Regions from separate parts of the Homo sapiens genome. Here regions 1, 2 and 4 are each linked to region 3. Evidence: promoter capture Hi-C in human tissues and cell types (Jung and others, 2019). All regions are on one chromosome and are shown on one strand. Each heading gives the region's core, a stretch centred on a gene start or on the middle of the fragment in contact. The rest is flanking DNA. Distances are from core to core; before and after follow the strand shown. Region 1 overlaps STXBP6 (syntaxin binding protein 6). Region 2 overlaps STXBP6 (syntaxin binding protein 6). Region 3 holds the start of STXBP6 (syntaxin binding protein 6). Region 4 has its middle 37 kb from the start of STXBP6.

What was found. Contacts are between HindIII fragments. The study calls those that stand out against the background at their distance.
Region 1: a fragment that was not itself captured here is called in contact with the fragment with the promoter of STXBP6 in region 3 in 8 of the 25 tissues and cell types used here (adrenal gland, dorsolateral prefrontal cortex, heart left ventricle and 5 more).
Region 2: a fragment that was not itself captured here is called in contact with the fragment with the promoter of STXBP6 in region 3 in 6 of the 25 tissues and cell types used here (IMR-90 fibroblasts, adrenal gland, dorsolateral prefrontal cortex and 3 more).
Region 4: a contact is called between a fragment that was not itself captured here and the fragment with the promoter of STXBP6 in region 3, in 1 of the 25 tissues and cell types used here (spleen).

What each region holds. Positions count from the first base shown.
Region 1 is chr14:25,008,339-25,011,812 of GRCh38, reverse strand. The region is part of intron 1 of STXBP6 (syntaxin binding protein 6); the gene reads left to right. Among named protein-coding and RNA genes, the nearest start is that of STXBP6, 40 kb to the left of the region's middle. The HindIII fragment of the contact is 5,454 bases long and covers 1-3,474 here.
Region 2 is chr14:24,988,989-24,992,144 of GRCh38, reverse strand. The region is part of intron 1 of STXBP6 (syntaxin binding protein 6); the gene reads left to right. Among named protein-coding and RNA genes, the nearest start is that of STXBP6, 60 kb to the left of the region's middle. The HindIII fragment of the contact is 4,243 bases long and covers 1-3,156 here.
Region 3 is chr14:25,048,569-25,051,705 of GRCh38, reverse strand. STXBP6 (syntaxin binding protein 6) reads left to right here and starts at 1,559. Exons shown (of 6, transcript NM_001394410.1): 1 at 1,559-1,828. LOC124903295 (a long non-coding RNA gene) reads right to left here and starts at 1,362. Exons shown (of 2, transcript XR_007064091.1): 1 at 1,272-1,362. The HindIII fragment of the contact is 10,437 bases long and covers 1-3,137 here.
Region 4 is chr14:25,085,644-25,089,255 of GRCh38, reverse strand. No RefSeq gene overlaps it. Among named protein-coding and RNA genes, the nearest start is that of STXBP6, 37 kb to the right of the region's middle. The HindIII fragment of the contact is 8,084 bases long and covers 1-3,612 here.

The DNA of each region.
Region 1 (3,474 bases), core at 245-2,744, 40 kb after region 3:
GGATCCAATCTATTGCTCACCTATGTAGCTTAGAAATACTTTTTTTTCATCCTGTAGTTGGCTGAACCAAATCCTGCAAGAAAACATGCTGCAATTTTAAAAGCTGAATAATGGTGCCTTAAGCCTGGGACTCTCATTTATTTTTATCACTGAACAGTATATAAATCTCTAAAAATGGCTACTTAAAATATAACTGGATTTTGTAGTCTCTGGGGCTCAGGGAAAACATTATTTTGTCTCATTCTCTTGGACTGAACCCAGTAACGTGCCATTTTGTCACAATGCCCAATAACCTTAGCTTCTCTTGGCTAATGAACAACATTAGCTCTTATTTCCCAGGTATGAAAGAGTTTCTATCATGAGAAAAGGAAGTGTGTTTCCAAAACAGTTAGCAGTGGCTTTCTGAAGTTAGTGCATATACAGGAGAGGAGCAGTCTTATGTAATATCCTTGAGTATTTTTCCAACATAGGAAATACTTGACGGTACCTGACAGCCTCAGGTGCCATCTGGAAAAGTGTCATCTTGTAGGAAGCTTGGATCAGAGCCTGTGTGTCATAATATGTCAGGTGTGTCATAATTACTTTGTGGTTCTGGTGGGGAGTGAAACAAAGACTATGTCAAAGGTTGCAGGGTTCTTAATGGAATATAAATTTCTTTGTTGGAAAGTAGATCTTTAATACTAAACTAGTTTTTGTAGTTATAGACAAATTCATTTTGCACTGTAGCCTTGCTTGTTATTTTTCTCAACATTAAATCTGCCATTGTGAAACGGTCTCAATATCTGATTTAAGTAATTAGTTGCATTTAGATTTCTATATTTAGACTGTCATTTTCATGGGCTTTTCCAGCAAGTCATCTCATTGACTTTGTTGAAGGTAGTTTTAGAATACAGAAAGTCAGTATGTAAAGTAGAAAGGTGGTTCTTTCATAGGATGGGCTTTGAAACTCCACACCACCACCATTGGTCTTGTCAAAATTTTGTTTTCTTTCATGTTTGTCACTTTGACCAAATCCTATCCCCCAAAGAAAAGAAAAAAAAAATCATCAAACAGACCCGTCTCCACATGCAAAGCATGTAGTATATGATGATGGGAGCCTGGAACTTACAGCTGGGGAATGCCAGGAATTTGGGGTTCTAGTGTCACTAAGGCTCCGCCTTTCTGTGCTTTAGTTTCCTGTTTAGAAAGTTCTGCTCCTTCATAAGGACCTTGAAGTACTAGGAGGAAAGGTGCTTTGTGTGTGGAGTTTTCCATGAAGTGCAGTCCCAACTAAAAGGCTGCGTTAAAGGTAGGTAAATGCCTTATAAAAACATATTTTAAATACAAAACATTTGTTAATTTATGCCACTTATTTATTTATTTAAGTATAAAATAGCCTCAGGCAATTGGAATTCAGATTTAAAATTCAGGTTTTGTTTATTGAATTCTCTTGCTAAGAGCAAAGAATGTAAAGGCTTGGGAAGTAGAAATTGGAACGCATTTTAATTGCCTGAATAGGTTTACCGGAGAAGAAGTTTTATTAACGTGGAAACATGTTCTTCCTCTGAGTCTGATTAGAGGCTACTTTGGGCTAGTCCATAAATCTCTTTTCAAATCTAAAGTGAGCATAACCATCATAAAGTGAGCCATAACTTAACAGCTCTTCCTGAGGACTGCCTTGGCTAGAGTTTCTATGGTGAGAACTCAGAATTCCAGGAATGCATGTTGAGCTGGAATCTCTCATATCAGTGATTCCCAAAGAGGAATGAGGGTGTGTCCGAATCTCCAAGTGTGCTTTTGAAGCTCTGAAGACCTCTTTTCCTTTGCCCGGGAGCTCAGTGAGCCACTGTTGTTAGCAGTTGTGTTTGGTATCTTTAGGTGTTTTAGTGAAAAAACAACTGAAGTTAGGCTGATGAGGAGAGTTGGGGGTAGCCTGTTAGCATTTCTCCCTGGAGAGTGCCACTCACTCTAGAAAAAGTAAATAATGGCTTTGAATGATTTGTAGTCCATACAGTGGCAGTCATATTGCTGAAAATTTGGTAACATATAATGTTTGTGGTATTTGGCTTGGTTCTAAATGCAGTTTGTGTGTGTGTGATGTTGTTTTGCATGAAGAGGCTACATGTGGGTGTTTTGATGCCCTGTAACAGAAACCAGTGGGACTAGAAAACCTGGATCTCTTAGTGCAGGGTCAGCACCAAGTCGGAGTAAGTTCTCAAAGAGTAGGTGACGTTGTGGCGATGGCGTGCTCCTCACTTTGTCGGACTGGGCTTGTTGGGTTTCTGTTTCACTGAGGGAGGAGATTTTCTGTGCATTTGATTACGCTACATGATACTGTGCAAGCTAACACTTTGGGCTTTGGGTCTGGGAAGGAAATGTATTTTGGTTACTTATTGTATAGTTTTGTATAATTTGTATAATTTATGCCTCATTTTGAGATGCAAGTAGGAAAATGGAAAAACAAGGAACCCAAGTAATCAGCAAATGAGCTTAAGAGAAGAGTCCCTGGGAAATTAAATAATATTTGAAGCTTCAAAGCTGTATGTTTAGGTTTTAGAACATCAGATATTAGGACCCAGTGATAAGAATTCTCCATTTATTGAACTGTTTTGAAATTTCATTTTTTAATTGCTTTAAGACGTCCTTAACTTGACGTCTTATAATACAGTTCGATAGTTGAATGAGACCATTCTGAAGTGAAAACAAAACAAATTAACTAGAAGTGATCTTAGCTATCATCCCATCCATCCTTTTTATTTTGCTGATGAATCCAGTAACTTGTGATAAAAGTCATATCTTGCTCTCAGAATTCTCCATGTCTCTCTGTGGAGTTAGCACATAATATATACTGGCTGGCTGGTGGGCTGGCTGAGATAGTATTTGCTAAAAAACTTAAACCTTTTGACCACAGTATTTGTGAAGAAAGTCTTGGTGGAAGATGTTAGAGTGACTCTTCGTTTTGGGATTTAAAAGCTTAGCCATTCTTCTGTGAGTTGTTAGATGCTACTGCTTGCTATTCTAAAAGCTTCTGATGTGTAAAATATTCTATAGGTATAAAACCTTTTGATGTGTAAAATGTCTTTTTTGTTACACATTCTCAAGCTGGTAGTCTCTTTTACCATTACTTTGGGAGCATTATGTAATTGCTATTTGAGAGTCAACAGAAAAATGAATAAAGAGGAATTATTGTTGCCAATAGACGCTGTTCTCCATACACCAAGTTAAATAAAACATGAATTTTAAAGTTCTATCAAGCAACAGCTTGTCAAATTAATTATAACATTCAGTGAGTCTTTAACAACCTAAAGTAATTTATCAGGTACATTTGGAAAGACGAACTCTTTTTGTTTGAGACAAGGTCTCCCTCTATCTCCCAGGCTGGAGTGCAGTGGTGTGCTCATGGCTCACTACAGCCTCGACCTCTTGGGCTCAAGCAATCCTCCCACTTCAGCTGGGACCACAGGCATATGCTACCACACCTGGCTAATTTTTTGT
Region 2 (3,156 bases), core at 91-2,590, 59 kb after region 3:
TGGAGCTATTTCCTAGCTATTGTGCTAGGTGCTGGGGTTTCTTCGGTAGCTCAGAATCTGGTTGGAAAAACAGACCGGTAAGAAGAATCTTGCAGTTCCCTACAATGTGCTTGGCACAGTGATAAAGCTGTTGGAATGTTGAGCAAAAGAGTGGCACGTAGCCCAGCCCAGGGAGAAGCAGCAGGAAGGAGAATGGTCGTATTAGGAGGAGGGCCACCAGGTGTCTGGGTTCCATATTGCCACATGCAAGCTGGGAGTGGATGTAGGGGCTGTGAGGCTTGGTGGGCCGTCTACCGCTCTCTAGTCAGAATTCCTGTGTGAGAAGCAAGCCCTCCAGGCTGTGCAGTCATGGAGAAAAGGCAGTTCTGAGAGATGTACTTATCTGTCACCAAAGTTTGTCTTCTAGGCATTCTTTCCTTTTCTTTCTTTTGTTAGATGACATATTTAGTGTGGTTTGAATTTGTGGGAATCATAACCTTGAATTGGTTGATTTTCCCCTTATGTAAAAGACAAAAGTCATCTTGCATTAATATGTCTTTTGACTGGATTTATATTGCTCTTGGGGATGATAAAAGCTCAGTGAACTGAGCATCTAACAGGCAATGAAAGTTCTCTGTGTATTTAAGACTCTGAATTGGCTGTCATTTTACTATCCACACCTCTTAACAACATCATATTACACATTCGCATTAATCTGCATTCTCTCAATGACCTGTATAAACTGATTGGGGCAGCTGTTAGGCCTACTGTATTAATAAAGAAAGTAAGACACATACTTGCAGATTTTAATTTTTTGACAATATTCATTGCTTTTGTTGGTTCTTTTGGTTGCAAGTAATAGCAGGTCATTCCAATTACTTTAGGAAAAGAAGAGTTTTTCATAAGCCTGCATATGTACTGGAAGTGGGGATGACTAGATGAGCAGAAGTTCTGGATGCTTCCTTTTCTCCTCTCTCCTCCTCCTCCTCCTCTCTCTCTGCTCTTCTCCTCCTCTTTCTCTTCCTCCTCCTTCTCTCACTCATCTCCTTCTCCTCTCTCTTCCCCCTCTCTGCTTTCCTCTTCTCTCCTCTGCTGCCTCTCCTCTGTCTTCTGTCTGCTCTCCTCTCTCTTCTGTCTCTCTTCTCTTTCTCTCTCCTCCTACTCTCCTTTTTCTCTTCTCCTCCTTTCTCATGCTCTCTCTCCTTTCTTCTCTCTCTGCTCTCTCCTCCTCTGCTCTCTCCTCCATCCTCTCCCCTCCCTTCCCTCTCCCTGTCCCCTCTCTGCCTCTTCCTCTCTCTCCCTCCTCTTCTCTCTGCATATCTGCATCACCCTTTCCTCAACCTACAGACCAGTTTTCTTTGTGGCATTTGCTTGTATGTGATCAACCTTCTTCTCTCAGCCTCTTTCTGCATAACTGACCTTAAAGCTTCAGCTCCCACTACTAATTGCTCTGTTTTCTTTCAGGATCTAATTGACCCAGCTTATCTTTTTTTTTTTTTTTTTTTTGAGATGGAGTTTCATTCACTCATGTCCAGGCTGGAGTGCAATGGCATGATCTCGACTCACTGCAACCTCCGCCTCCCAGGTTCAAGCAATTCTCCTGCCTCAGCCTCCTGAGTAGCTGGGATTACAGGCCTGCACCATCACGCCCGGCTAATTTTGTATTTTTAGTAGAGATGGGGTTTTGCCATGTTAGTCAGGTTGGTCTCACACTCCTGACCTCAGGTGATCTACCCACCTCGGCCTTCCTAAGTGCTGGGATTACAGGTGTGAGCCACTGCGCGCGGCGCAGCTTATCTTTTCAAGCAAGGTCATATTGTAGCTGGATTGATTCTTCCTAAGTCGGGCCTTTCTCAACTCTCCCCATCCTACTCAGCTTGGAACAGGGAAGCATACCCATGTGGTGCATAAGATCAGGAAGTTGGAAGCTTCCTTCAGAAGCACAAAGTGATGAGAAGCAAGACATTCTGAGGCATGACCCTTCCCCGGCCTGGCTCGTAACTCATTTCCTACACACAGTTCTAAAGATCTCCTCTTCCAATGTAAGCCAATCCTTATAGGTAAAACCACATATTCACTTAACCTTTCCCCAACAGGAAGTGTCCAAAGTCATAGTCAGCTCTTGCTGACTGTGGGACCATTTAAAAACCATTGTCTCCATCTGAAGCCACAATTCTCAATGATCTCTGTCACAATTCTAGTTCTGTCACGATCCATTTGAACCATTCTGCAACCCATGGACTACATGGCACATGTAACCACAGTACATGCTTAACGTATAAAGGTGAGGCGTATCTTAATACTCATGTAAGAAAGGGCAGAAGGCTACACCTCCCAGTCTGTCTGTGAGAAAGACACGTCATACCTGGGTCACTGGCTCAACATATGCTCTGTCTAGTAGAACAGAGCCCACACTCGTGATGGGCAGCCTCCTTGCTTGCATTCTGAGGCCAGATGCTGGGAAATAGGTTAATTGGAGGATCTTAATTAAGCATGAAGACAGTCCTCACCTTCATACATTAGGCGTGCACCATACTGCCATCCCCCTCCCCACAAACACACATTTCACATTCTTGGTATTTGTTTCTTCAGAGCCTGCTTTGTGGCACTTTATCAGAGCAGCTGGCATATTGGGAGAGGGATAGAATATAAAGTCTTTATAAAATTCTAAGATGACTATGTGATATGAATATTTGGCTTGTTTTTTGTTTATTTTGATGCCCTTAGTTCAGTTCCCCCAAATCGCTGTGACGATTTCTTGATCTCTGCTTTACTGCCCCATTGGGCAGTACTTTTTTATTTTTAAACTGTGCTTTACCTTTCTGAAAATATATTCTTACAACTTTCCCAATCATGCTAATTAATTTAGTATCTACACCAGCTTCTGTATCCTCAGTAACCAGACAGTAATGAATTAGTAAACAGGCCAGTTATTAGAAAAATAGAACAATCTGGATGATGGTCACCTGAGAGGCAGCCTCAGTTTGGATGGTGGAATAGGGAGTAGTGGGGTCTGGTGATTTGGAGGTTGTAGAGATGGTGGGGGGTGCGAGCCTAATGTTGCCAGGTCTTCCCAGTTTTCAAGAGAAACTGGAAATATGTTTTACATGAAGTATATATTTTTAGAAATATACATGAGCCAAGAAAACTTATTCTTGCAAAACTTTCCGTTTGTAA
Region 3 (3,137 bases), core at 310-2,809:
TTTTCTCTGATTTTCATAAAACTGTAGCTACCAAATGGGGATACCTAGGGTATCAGTTTTATGATATCCTAGGTATCCCCGTTTCTCCCATTCTTCCCCTCCAAACCATCTTCCTGGGTCTGCTGCCCTGTCCATCTTCACAGAATTCAGTTCGGATTGTCTCCTCCCCCAGCATCTCTGCTATCTCCACGTAGTCTACAAACTAAGTGCAGGAGCCACAGACTGACAGTCAGGACTTCTGCCTGAGCCCCCATCCACAGCTCAAACCCTCTTTCCTATTTCACTATGCTAATGCTTACCCCTTGCACTCCAAACAAGCAGGTCTGTGTACCACCATCTAACACCCCAACAGGGCCAGGCTAGGGTGAGGTGAGTCACAGCACTTAAAGGTTCACCAAAGAATTCAGTAATCAAGGTTAATATTTTAATGGAATATTTAAAAAAATCAAAATTAATATCAAAAATGCATGATGAAAAATAACAAAATTTTAAATAAAGACAGGGTAAGTTTAGGGGTTTTTCCTATTGCTTCAGGCTCAAAAGTGCCTTCCGGGGCACTGTTATCGGCCCTGCAGTGACTCCCCACACAGATACTTTTACTAATGATGTTTCCCAAAAGTTAGTTCTTACAACCGCTTTCTACATTAGTAACGTCTTTCTTCTTGAACGCTCCAGCATTTAAGTGTAGCGCTCTACTGTCAGGAAAACCCATTTCCCCTAGTAACTAGTAGTACTTCGAAGATATTCTGAATCATCTTGGATCCTTTCCAGCACTTTCCCAAACCACAGTGAGCACTCAGCACCACTTCGCTAAAAGAGTGCAGAATCACAATGCTCAAATCACTGTCTGGGGGGTTCAGCAGGGAGGGGACGCAGATATGTTTTGTTTAGTCCAGGGTGTTTTGAGAAAATTGAATTTGTTATCAAGATTTTACAAATCAGGATATTGTACATGAATATACTCCGTCATTTCTGGAAAAATCAGAAAATCTAGCAACACTAGGTCTAATTCTTGCCCGATAGCAAGGGACCCTGAGAGCAGATAAGCGGCCCTGCCTTCGGAGCTCTCTCCAGTTCGCCTTCCCCCAGTTACAGTGCCTGTCAGGCCCCATTAGATCTTTGAGTTTGCTATCGTAAGAATAAAGGAAGGAGCGCACAGGATAAAAACCCATCGGCTGGGTCTATTCGTTTTTTCCTAGAGAAAAAAAAAAATGTTTCCTGGTTGTCCTTTCGAATATAGTCTCACAGAGAAGCTCACAGAAGCAGCCCACCTTTCTAGCCCACAAACTTCCCACAAGCCGTGAAAGTCGCACCGGCTCTTGCACCCAGATCGGTTTCTCCCGGGTCTTTGGCTCAGGGCCCCCGCCCCTACATTGGCCTTTCCCTTCCTCTGCCACCTCCGCGCTCCGAGGCCTGGGGCGGGTCGCGGGTCCCGGCCCCCAGCCCCCAGCCCCTAGCCGCTGCTCTTTGCCCCGGGCCAGGGCGCTCGGGCTCGCCCACGGCGGCACTGAGCATGCTCAGAGGCGGCCGCGCGGGCAGGTTTGCTTCGCAGGCGCTCGCACTCGGCGGCGGGCGGGCGCGCGGCTGCAGCTGGAGCTCCAGCGCCCGGAGTTGGAGTTGCCGGGAGTTTCCCCCCAACCCCTCCCTTTTCGCGCGCGGCAGCAGGAGCCGGCGCGGGAGCCGCGAGCGGCGGCGAGCCAGCACCCGGGCCGGCTAAGCCTTGTCCGGAGCCCGGAGCCCCGCGCGGGGCAGCCCCCCGGGGAGGAGCCTCGTGCTCTGGGACGCGTGCCGCGCACTGGCACGGCAGGGGCGCGAGCCAGGCTGCACGGTAGGACCGGGGCGAGGGGAGCCAGGCGGTCAGGGCGGAGGCCAAGCCCGGGAGATGCGGTTGCAGCCGCCACGGCTGTTGGGGCGCCTGGCGCTCCGTCCGAGGCGGGTGGCTGTGAGGCCAGGGGAGTAGGCAGGCTCCCAGAGAGATTCTTCCAAGTTGGCGGGTGGCGGGAGAGGGGGCCGCGCGCCCCGGCGCAGCTGCTTTGTGCGCGCAGAGAGGGACTCGTGTCCCTGGTTCTCTCCAACCCTGGGACCCGTTGTGCGGGCAGTATTGGGCAAGCCGCAGAACGGAGCGATTTCCTCCGAGAAAGTTGAGGATGGAGCCTTTTTTTCCGCACCGTCCCCGCGATGGCATGGGCCCCGAGAATGCTGCCCCGAGGCTCCCAGTGTGGGGGAGCTCGGGGTCGCTGCGCCTCTAGCTTGAGCGCAGAAATCCGCGAATCACTCCGATCTTCGCGAACTCTGGCATCTTCTAGGAAAATCATTACTGCCAAAACTGAGGCGAGCTTTTCTGGCGGGCACGGCACCCTGCCCCCAGGGCGCTGGCCCTGGGCGATGCCCCCTTTCCGATCTCAGGCTTGGTCAAGGGCGCCAGGTTCCGAATTCGCGCTTGCCGTGCACGCCGGCATCGAGCCTCACCAACACCGCCGGGCAACGTGGCTGGAGTAGGTGGGTGGCTTGATTTTCCCTCCAACCTTTCCTCAGGTTTACAACACCCCGCCACCTCACCACCCCACCCCGTTCATCTTCACAGAGGACAGGACCTGCAGGTGGAGAATTTGGAAAGACATCTTGTTCTTTAGGAGAAAGTCCCCGGGGTGTATCTGCCCTTGGTTCTGGCCCCAGGATTTCATAACGAACCTTCTCCCCTTCCTATTACGCTTCCCTAGGGACTGGGTGGGAGAGAATAGGATCGGTAGGTCCGCAGGAACTTCCATCTCATTCCACCCTCTCCTAAGATTGCCTTCCGGGCGACCCCAGGACCCTGGAACTGGCATTGTGCGGATTGTAAGGCTGTGGAGGATGCCGACGAATTTTTCCTGGCTCCACTTTTTTCACTTCTTGTTTTGAGTTTTGGGGTTTTGCCTGCACACTAGTCAGAGCTGCGCCCTAGTCAGAGCCACCCTGGGGGTGGAGGAGCTTCAGCCGAGGCTGTGAGCTGCTGTTCGTCTCAGAGGCTGCTAGTGGGAATCGGTCCAGAAATGATTATGCAGGCTAGAAATATGCCTCTCTTTTTTTCTTTTTTGGCTGAACACCTTGGCTGTTGGGTTTGTGTGTTACGTTCTTAAAGGGACACCCTCACACTG
Region 4 (3,612 bases), core at 429-2,928, 37 kb before region 3:
CAGGCCAGGTAATCAACCCTGCATCCACCACTCCCACCTTCAGAAGAGCCACCTCCTGCTGGGTCCATACTGGACCCTAATTCAGAGCAGGAACAACCTGATACTACACAGGAAACTAGCAGCAGCAAGGGAAAAAAAAAACAGCAAAAACAATAGAAAACTAGTCTCTGTCCTAATCTTTCTAAACAAGGTTTTCATACAGATGCAATTTGAACCATACTAAGAGCCCAGCATTAGATTTATGTTTGGATTTCCAGACCAACAAACACTTACTTGTTTTAGAGATTCAAAGAAAAACATGATGTGCAAAGACATGTCAGAATTAAGGATCTTGTTCAAAAATATGCTCTGTGCCAGGTGTAGTGGCTCCTGCCTGTAATCCCAGCACTTTGGGAGGACAAGGCAGGAGGATCACTTGAGACCAGGAATTCAACACCAGCCTGGGCAACATGGTGAGACCCTGCCTCTACAAAAATGAAGAAAACAATCAGGCATGGTAGTGTGTGCCTGTAGTCACAGCTACTCAGGAGGCTGAGGCAGGAGGATCGCTTCAGCCCAGGAGTTCCAAGCTGCAGTGAGCTATGATCACACTACAGCACTCCAGCCTGGGTAATAGAGCAAAACCCCGCCTCCACCTCAAAAAAAGAAAGGGGGGGTGGGCAAACATAAAAAAAAAAAATTCTGACTACATACAGAAAGTAAGTCAAAGTAATATAACTATATATCAAGTTCCAAAAACAAACAACAACTTCTTTTTTTTTTTAAGACAGGGTCTCTACTCTGTCACCCAGGCTGTAGTGCAGTGTTGTGACACATGGTTCACTGCAGCCTTGACTTCCTGGGTTCAAGTAAGCCTCCCTCCTGAGTAGTGCATGGTGGTGCATGTGCCTGTAGTCCCAGCTACAATAATGCACCAGTATGCATTATTTTTTATTTAATGTAGAGATGGGGTATCAATATGTTGCCCAGGCTGGTGTTGAACTCCTGGGCTCAAGCATTCCTTCCACCTTGGCCTCCCACAGTGCTGGGATAACAGACATTAGCCACCACACCTGTTCCCCAAAAAATTTTATTGGAAAATGTCTTCTTAGACCTAGCAAGGCCTCCAAATTAAATATATGTATGTAAATATATATTTGTCTGTATTTGTGTATCTTGACTCAGTATTATTGAATGTCAGGTTTAAAGGGGGCCCCAGGATACTGATGCTCAAATGATGATCTACAAGCCCATTAAACCACTATTGATGTTTGCAGGATCTAATTAAAATGATAGTAAAAGATGTGTGTGTGTGTGTGTGTGTGTGTGTGTGTGTGTGTGTAGCATTGTCAGTTTGTCACTATCCTTATCCCCAAAAGATCTATTCTCTATTGTGTCCTTCTGTTTTTTTGTAAAAATTATCTTTTATGAAATGATAGTTGTAGTAGAAAGTCGTTTTGGTTTTTTGTTGTTGTTTGGCTTGGGTTTTTTTAATTTGACAAAATAAAACATTGAAAACCTGGTAAGTCCACATTTTGGGGTGGCATGGGTATTTTACTGATCCTTGAAATTCGTACATCTGGGATGTATGACCTAGACAACATGTACCAAATCTATCTGATGTTTGAATGCTTCTTAGTAACTTTCACCTATTAGTCCTAGTTCTAGCTCCTGCACCCACACAGACTCAGCTGTCCCTGTTCCAGATGAAAGTCCTTTCTATAGCTGAAGACAGTGCTTCTGTTCCCCCTAAGATCTTTTTTTCTCCAGAATTAAAAATCTTCTATTGTCTTCAACTCTACTTTTGAGCCAGACCTCAAAATAGAGCCTGTGAGATAAAAGAAAACATTGAAAGAAAGAAATATGTATATACTTAAAGAAAGAAATGCCATTTCTTTTATGTTTTATAAATGAGGAAATTGAATCCAAGTGCTTAAGAGACATAACTAAGATCTAACAGTGTGTTACTGACATTCACTACGCAGCAAATCAAAACATCTTACCCTTGAGAAATGTTTGCATTAAAGCAAAGAACAAAAAGACAGTAGCAGATGCATGTAAATTGATTCAACAAATATTTTCAGTGTCTAAACTATGCCATGAATTACGGTAGCTAAAAGGAAACAGGTTCCCTGCTTTTGAGGAGCTTAGAAGCAAGAAATAGTAAGTAAATAAAATAGCAAAAATATGAAAAAGTAGCATGACAATAGAAACAACTACTTCAGTTGGGGAAGCTGGAAAGGCACAAGAGAGGAAGTGAAATTGAGGTTGGGCAATGAAGGATGAATAGGAATTTTCCAAGGAAGGTTAAGTGTGTTTGGAGGAAGATACAATGAGTTCAATTCCAGAGAGCTGAACTTCAGGTAATTTTGAGGCACCTGGAGGAGATAACCAAGGGGCAATTACACCATGAAAAAAGAAAATTGAAAAAAAACAGACATATGTGGTACATGCCCACAGAAAGTAGTGCTGAAAGAAAACTTTTTCATTTTTCTACCAGATTGGAAAATGCTTTGTATAAAAGTTTAAGATGAGTTTACTTTTAACTATATGGACAAGGAAGGTTTTCTTTCTAAATCATGATGGAGAAGTCCATTCTCATTGATAGCAACAAAATAAGAAAGAGAATAGGAAATACAGCTACCAAGGAGGTGAGTTTCAAAATAATGAGAATAAAGTTACTCAGTGTTAAACTTCCTATCTTTAACTTGTAGATACTTGTAGAGGTAGTGTTAGCTTTGAAATTTCTTGAGATTTCATGCTTAATAAGATTAATTTCACATAAATATGGAAGTTACTTCTTGATACTTGGTAAGCACTTTGAAGTTATTTTTATCCCAGTACAGACAGGTAGTTTCATTTGGAGTTCAGGCAGATCAGGATTACTCCGTAGTGAGAACAAGTACATTCAATACAACAGGCTGCATTTGTATGACACAGTTCCACTATGATCTCTTCAACCACGTGCCCGGTGGGCCTGCCTCCTCCATGCTCCCCCTACCACCCACAGACTTCCACTCCTGGTGTCTTACGGAACATAAACATAGACATCATCACCTCAGCTTCCAGAAACACTTAAACACAATACCGTGCACATAATAGCAGCTTAGTAACTATTCCAAACACGATAATTACAATTCTAAAAAACTAAATAAATTTGAATCAACAATACCTAGCAACAGTGCCTGTTCACATGCTTGGGATATGTATTTGGAGGTCTTTTAGCAGGCATAGATCTTGGAGAAAACTTCTTGCAGGTACTCCTTCCTTTTTACCCATCTCTTTGAAAGTTTCAACTCGAAATTTTAAATAATATCCTGGATACTCTATTTGGTTATGTTAACCTCTAATACTACATTTAAACTTACTGAATAAAATGATCATTCTGTCCTGGGGCTTCTATTTTGAGTTTTCTCTTGGCACCATTTTAGCATGCACTTAAAAATGGGATTTTTTTTTTTTTTTTTGAGCTTGGATGAGATGCAGAATAATTTTCTGTTATGCATGACTGAGAGGCAGGAAAGATATTTCAGAAAAACAAAGCTGTCTCTAAGTGGTTATAAGAATAATTTGAGATAGGACCGCTAGAGAATTTAATTTTAGCAGTATTAATATGTGGAACAAAATACTAAA